Regions from separate parts of the Homo sapiens genome. Here region 1 is linked to region 2. The links are contacts of gene promoters, found by promoter capture Hi-C in blood cells and fetal thymus (Javierre and others, 2016). All regions are on one chromosome and are shown on one strand. The core of a region is centred on a gene start or on the middle of the fragment in contact, and the rest is flanking DNA. Distances in the headings are between cores, read along the strand shown. Region 1 overlaps ZNF274 (zinc finger protein 274). Region 2 holds the start of ZNF772 (zinc finger protein 772).

Region 1 (3,529 bases), core at 470-2,969, 720 kb after region 2:
GGCTTGGCTGAGAAGAAGCAAGTGGGGTGCAAACTATGTGTGCTTTCATGTTGCAAAGAAGCTGTGTTGAATCAACAAATATTACTTGAGCACTTGCCAGGATTCCAGGTACTGTTCCAGGGCTGGATCACAGTGATGAGTGGGGCAGGTCTTACACCTGCTTTCATTGGGCCTACATCCATTCCATGGCTGATTGGATCAACAAAAATGAAGTTGCCCATTCAGTACCTCAATTGCACTGGGCACCTTTCAACTGCTCATTGGCCCTGCAGCTAATGCTACTATGTTGGACAGTACAGATCTAGAACATCTCATTTATAGAAAGTTCCATTGGACAGCACTGCTCTAGATAGGGTGATAGACATGATAAATTAATGAATCAGATATTTGGGATGGTAATGAGTGTTGGAAAGAGAAGGAAACAATGGGATACATTGGTGGGGGACAAGCGAGGTACGGGTGGGCAGCAGTAGTTCAGAACTAAGTAGGAAGATGGTTCTGAGGAGGTGACGTTTGAGCTCAGACCTGAATGGGAAAGGCGAACCAGGTGAAGATGTTGGGGAAGGTGAACCAGGCGAAGATGTTGGGGAAGACTATACCAGGCAGGAGGGTGGTGCACATGTGGATCTCTGGATGAAAGGCCATATTCTAGGAAAACTAAGATGGTGGCTGTGGGAGACCCCTTTAGCGTCAAGGACATGAAATAACAGGGTTTGGAACCCGGCTCCTTTGTTGCCCACTATGTTAGGCCGTTCTTAAATTGCTGTAAATACCTGAGACTGGGTTATTTATGAAGATAAGAGATTTAATTGGCTCACAGTTCTGCAGGCTGTACAAGGGTGGCACTGGCATCTGGTTGGCTTCTGGGGAGGCCTCAGGGAGCTTTTTACTCATGGTGGAAGGCAGGGAGCAGGCACATCATGGGAAAAGCAGCAGCCAGAGAGAGGAAGAAGGTGCCGCATACTGTTGTTTGTTTGTTTTGTTTTTTTTTTTGGAGACACGGTCTCACTCTCACCTAGGCGGTAGTACAGTGGTGCGATCATGACCCACTGCAGCCTCGACTTCCTGAGTTCAAGCGATTCTCCCACCTCAGCTTCCTGAGTAGCCAGGACTACAGGCACATGCCGCTACGCCTGGCTAATTTTTTTTTTTTTTTTTTTTTGTGGAGATGGGGTTTTGCCATGTTGCCCAGGCCGGTCTAGAACTCCTGGGCTCAAGCGAACCACCTACCTCAGCCTCCCAAGGTGCTGGGATTACAGGCGTGAGCCATTCTGCCCGGCCACACTTTTTTAAACAACCAGATCTCGTGTGATTAACTTAACCACCAGGAGGATGGTGCTAAGCCATTCTTGAAGGTTCACCAGGCCCCACCTCCAACACAGCATCACTTTTCAACCTGAGATTTGGTAGGGACACAGAACCAAACCGGATCATCCACTCTGCAACCCTGGGCAGGGTTCCTAGCCTATCCCAGCATGAATTTCTTTTTTTTTTTTTTCTTTCTGAGATGGAGTCTTGCACTGTCGCCCAGGCTGGAGTGCAGTGGTGTGATCTTAGCTCACTGTAACCTCCACCTCCTGGGTTCAAGTGATTCTCCTGCCTCAGCCTCCCAGGTAGCTGGGACTACAGGTGCCCGCCACCTCGCCTAGCTAACTTTTGTGTTTTTAGTAGAGACGGGGTTTCACCATATTGGCCAGGCTGGTCTCAAACTCCTGACCTTGTGATCTGCCCACCTCGGCCTCCCAAAGTGCTGGGATTACAGGCATGAGTCACCGCACCAGGCATATTTCTTTTGTGTATGGTGTACATTTGCTTCCTGGGACTGTGGGCAGCCTTCGTGAAATGATGGTACTGTCATTGATTCAAAAACTGAGTAACGTAAAGATGATCAGCAGCCTTTGGCAGATCCTCTACTTAGGGGTGTGAGATCCACAAGTCCCAGTTGGCAGCCTCAGTGGTACACTGGAGGAGACAGATGCAGAAGGTAATCCAACAGGGAGCTTAGGGGCACTGAGGGAATGATGAGAGAGAACAGGAGAGCTGAGAGCTTTCCAGACAAGGAGGAAAAGTGATGGGGTACTGTGCCCAGGGATTAGGGGAGCTGAGGGTAAGTACTCTTCTGACTTTTCCCCCACAAGCTGCTAAAAAGATCATTGCTTTTCGTTATATTTTGGACTGGTATACCTGGCTAATCAGCATTCACTGGCAAACAGCACTGTGAGGAAGACAGCTGCCTAAGGCCTGTTTGTCACCCTGGAAGGGAAGCAGCAGAGAGGTAGAAGTATCCTGAGAGAAGAAAATAGTGTCAAGAGGGAGAAAGCAGCAGCTCCCATCAAGCCCTTACCACATGCTGTGCCTGGACTTTGGTATCTCATCACTTTGGGTGAAGAAACTCAGGCTCAAGAAGTTAATCTCTCTTGATTAAACCCCTTGCTTTGAGCCTCAGTGAATTTGTTTCACAACCCATTAGACAGACAGTTGTAGGTGAGGTGACTACATTGCTACGGGCTCATTCAGTTGCTGGACTGAAAGCCATTTGGAGCTCCAGCTGATAGGGATTATGCAGCTCCACATGAGTGGGTTGGGTCAGTCATGTCTGTGGAATGAGATGGGTGGAATGAGAATCCAGTTCCACCTCTGCCTGGTGGTGAACTTAAGAGCTTCCATTTTCTCCTCCATGAAGTGGAGCAGCTAATTTCCTGCAATAGACAGTGGTAAGGATTGCCCTAAAGGTCTTGGGATAGTCTATGGGTTGACATTTGGAGGACTGAGGTGCACAGAATGAGTCCATCACTTCCTCACCAGTTTCTGGGTTTGTGGTCTCTCTGTTCACTGTGGTGTCCTTGGTTCCACAGCATGCAAAAGGTGCTTTATGATAACTGTGTACAGAACAGAGTGTGGGGCCTCATGGGTTAATAATAAAGATTAAAGCAGAAGTAAGTACATTAGAAAGGGGTGGGGTGGAGTAGAAGAATCCAACAGTTGTTTTCCTAGGGGCCAAGGCATGAAAATCCCTCGATTAAGGAATACAAAAATGAAATTTTAGAAATTTATGAAGTAACGTTTAAGATGTTTAAGTGTCATGCATGGTTACCTAAAATAGTACTGGTGGCCCAGTGCTGGTCTGCCACTTAGCCCCCCCCCAGGAAGTACAGATTCAGTTGGTGCATGTCCCATGTCCTAGGCACTTAGTCCGGTGCTGCTGGGCCTCCAGTAAATCTTATCCCCAGCTGCTTCTCAGGAAAAATTCAAGCCTTAAGAGCTGTAATTGGGCTGGGCACGGTGGCTCACACCTGTAATCCCAGCACTTTGGGAGGCCGAGATGGACGGATCACCTGAGGTGAGGAGTTCGAGACCAGCCTGGCCAAGATGGCGAAACCCTGTCTCTACTAAAAATACAAAAATTAGCTGGGCCTGGCGGTGGGCGCCTGTAATCCCAGCTGCGGCTGAGGCAGGAGAATTGCTTGAACCCGGGAGGCGGAGGTTGCAGTGAGCCGAGATCCCTCCACTGCACTCTAGCGTGGGCGAC
Region 2 (3,670 bases), core at 9-2,508:
CCCCTTGCTCTTGGTTCCCACCAGACATGACAGAGACCTGCAATTTCTTGAAAACTCCCTTCTCAGTCTCACCTCTAAGTATTTTGCACAGGCTGGTTCCTGTGCCTGGAACAACCTTCCAACCTTATTCCAATGGTTGGCAGAAATGGAAACCCCTCCATAAAACCCCTGGCCCGGAGTCAGGACCCTGGGCTTGGGGCTTCTCCAGAGTCCTCAGACCCAAGAGATCGGAGAGTAGCAGGAGAGTGTTCTATATAACACCACAATGCTGGAGAGCGTATTGGGTGGGGGTGGGATCGGTGAGAGCATGGACATTCTCCCCTCACCTGTATAGGGTCCACAATTACTTCTGAGTTCATGGGAACCTGTGGGGAAGAGGGAGACTATGCGAGTCAAGCAATCTTGAAGGAACCCCAAAGGCTCAACCCCATCCCATATTCCTACCCAGTTACAATGTGCCTGGGAGCTGAATGTCTACCCTCTGTGCTTCCATCTTCAAGGATACCTCTTAACTGTGTTAGCTCGGAACAGTGCTCATTATCCGCCCCCATGGCCAACAAGAGTCTGCCCTCCATGAGCAGTCTATGGAATACTTTTTAAACCCTCGGATTCTGGCTCTCCTCTGTTCAGAACCTTCCATGGCTCCCATCACCCTCAGAATAGAGACCCAGCTGCTCAGGATGATATTCCAGGTGCAATCACTTATAAAGCGCTCTGATCCTTTCAGACACTAAAGGCCCAGTTTTCCCAAATGCTCCAGCTGTGAACCATCTCTGAGCCTTTGCATACACTGGTCTCTCTGCCTGGAACGTCCTTCAACTCGTGCTGTCAAAATGGGTCCCAAACACGAGCGCCCCCACTGTTCTAGATACAGGGGCCTGAGCTGCAGTAACCCGAGGAATCGTTCATTCGAAGCTTTGGGATTCAGAGATGGGGGTCAGCGCGCAGACTCGCAGACGCAGCACCCACCTGTGCCGGGCCCATCGGCTCAGCCGCCGCCATCAGGCCTGTGGACTACGGAAGGGTGGCGACAAGTGCAGGAACCTGGGATCAGCTGTCCAGGGCCCAGCCCAGCGGCTAGGTCACTCAGGCAGCGCCACTGTCAAGCCTCAGGCCCACCTCTCTTCAGGGAAGAAGACACTCTCTCACGTTTTCCCTTTTCTGTCACCTCAGGTCTGACATTGCGTTCTGGAAACTAAACCAGTGGATTAATGGAAAAGCAAACAAAATGTCCACCCGAGGATGGTAGAGGAAGTCCCGCCCTGACGTTGGTGAGGACCAACGGAAACGCCTATTTCCTGGGTTTTCATTGGCCCAGAGCCGCCAAGTTTCCTGGGTAATGTAGTTCCCACGGCACCAACACTAGTAAGCGGCGTCTCGCTTCACCTCCAGGTTAAAAGCCCAGAGAAGACCGCCAGGGGCGCGTGGAAATGGTGTCCCTCGTCTCCAAGGCCCAGACGGAGCTTAGCTTCCTCTTGAAGGAGCCATATCTGTATTTCTGGTGAACGTCGTGTTTGACATCAAAGGAATGTTTAGAGACATGATTTCAGCCTTCCTTACGCAGAGAATGCTCATCAAAAAATAAAATGGACACACCATACACTGACGTCACTCAGATTTCTATGGCTGGAAGTTAACAAATATTGTTTTCAAATGCGTGTAGCCTGATGCTCCAGAGTTAGTTTGGCGAGCCTCAGCATTTTCTGTCAGGCACAAGAAAGAAAAGACTCCAGACACCATGATGTGGAACGTGGAGTGGGGATGTTTGGTGGCCTTGAAGTAAGTGAATAACCCTTCTGTCTGTTACCTCAGAAAATATTTATCCTGCTTATACAGCAGTGATTGTGTCAAACCCAACAAGTAATACTCTTGTTCAAGATAGTATTTCATACTCCATATACAGAGATGTATTCAATATTTTAAGTGTTTTACAAGTGTCTGAAAAGACAGAATTCATCAAATGTCATATGGCAATGAAAAGGGCAACATGAACACTTTCTGTAAAGAAGAAATAACCACCAAACTAGATGTCTATACACAACAAAATGTCTTTTATGGAAGTGTGATATAAAACTATTTGAAACCAAAAATGATAAATGTAATGGAAATACATTTACACAAAAAATAATGTTTAAAATAATACTCAAGGCCAAAGAAAGTTGATCTCAGGTGAAAAGTCTGCAATGAGAGAAGAAATGAAGATGAAAAGAAGTGCATCTTTTGATTAAAATAACAGCATATTACAGTGTAAAACATAAGTAGATATACTTATTGAGTTAGAATGATGGAATTCCCGTGCGTAACCTCAACTACATATAAATTGAAAGGAGGCTAGTTGCTCAAAGTTTTAAATTTTTTATATTTCCAAGTGGAAAGCAAATGTATTACAATCCTGTATGGCACGCTAATGTGTTAAACGTTTGTAATTTTTAGCCTAAATATAATAAATACAGTCAGCGTATATACTTTTCAAACTAGAAGAGGAAATGTTTGGAATATAAATAAATAATCAATAGAAAGGTAAAATAATAGTAAAATAAGTGGAAGAAGTGAGGCAAAGAAAAGCACAATGTAGGATATATTTAAACTGTCAACCTAAATAACAGAGATTCTTCAAAGATGTTGAGTTCATTCAGGAATGCACAGGGGATTTGCAAATCCAGGACATGCAGGCTATAGGGACTATAGGCATATCCAGAGAGCTTGAAACAAGGAGAAGCTTTCAAAGGCAAAAGGGAAAAGTATATATAATTTGTTTTGAGATAAAAAGAACATTGGTCACAGATGTTTATGGCAGAGGTTAACACCAGTTCATTAGTGGAGACAATCTGTCAGGCAAGTGTTCTACTACATCTAGAGCTGTCCTTGTAACTCCTGTAGCAAGCTGCGGTTTGAGAAGTTCTTGTCAAAACTTCTTTTAACGGGAATATGTGCATTAAGAGCCCTCAGAGACAGTAATAGCTCTTATCTTAAGCATGTGTGTTTGAGTGCCCTCTTTTCTCAGCCTCCTGGCTTTATTTATTTATTTACTTATTTATTTATTTTACACAAGTTACTCATTTTGGTTTTGACAACTTTTGCAAAACCTAAATGACTATGCAATAAATACTCAAATAAGCAGTTAGTAATTTTTGATGGACCAAAACACGCTTCACGAGGTATTCTCTTTTCTTCAGTGAATTTCCACAGAATTTGAATTGTGATTGAAAGCACAACTAACATTCCCAGACTCCCTACTCTGTCAGTAAGAAAAGAATCATGTTGTAGTTAGAAACGTCCAAAATCTGCTTTAGAGAAACCAAGACCTACGCTTGAAGGTTACCAGGCCCTTGACTCACCCAACTGGGCTGAGATGTCATCAGGGAACTGCATATCATCAGCATCTTCTGGTTATTCATACAGGGGTGGGATAAGGATGACAATAATTTACATTTAATAATGTCCATATCCTAGACATTCTATCAGACCTTTTATAAACACTACGCACTTTTGCCCTGTAAAGTGGATTTGTCACCTAAATTAATATGAGGAAACTGAGGTTTCTTGGGTCTATAATTTATTTTCAGCTGTAGCTGTTAAGTGGCATAGTTGGCAATGGAGTCCAAGGAGCCATGACTAACTACTTCCCAGCATGGCCTCCTACCCTAGGTCATCTATCTGGGTAGGTTCA

What was found. The method cuts DNA at HindIII sites, captures the fragments that hold promoters and counts their contacts. A CHiCAGO score of 5 or more calls a contact.
Region 1: a fragment that was not itself captured here is called in contact with the fragment with the promoter of ZNF772 in region 2 in 1 of 17 cell types (fetal thymus); the score reaches 5.2 in fetal thymus.

Annotation. Positions count from the first base shown.
Region 1 is chr19:58,200,031-58,203,559 of GRCh38, forward strand. All of the region lies in intron 4 of ZNF274 (zinc finger protein 274), which reads left to right. Among named protein-coding and RNA genes, the nearest start is that of ZNF274, 19 kb to the left of the region's middle. The HindIII fragment of the contact is 4,047 bases long and covers 1-3,529 here.
Region 2 is chr19:57,476,308-57,479,977 of GRCh38, forward strand. ZNF772 (zinc finger protein 772) reads right to left here and starts at 1,259. Exons shown (of 4, transcript NM_001144068.2): 1 at 970-1,259; 2 at 327-365. The coding sequence starts at 1,002. RefSeq lists enhancers at 460-983, 574-1,773. The HindIII fragment of the contact is 1,804 bases long and covers 914-2,717 here.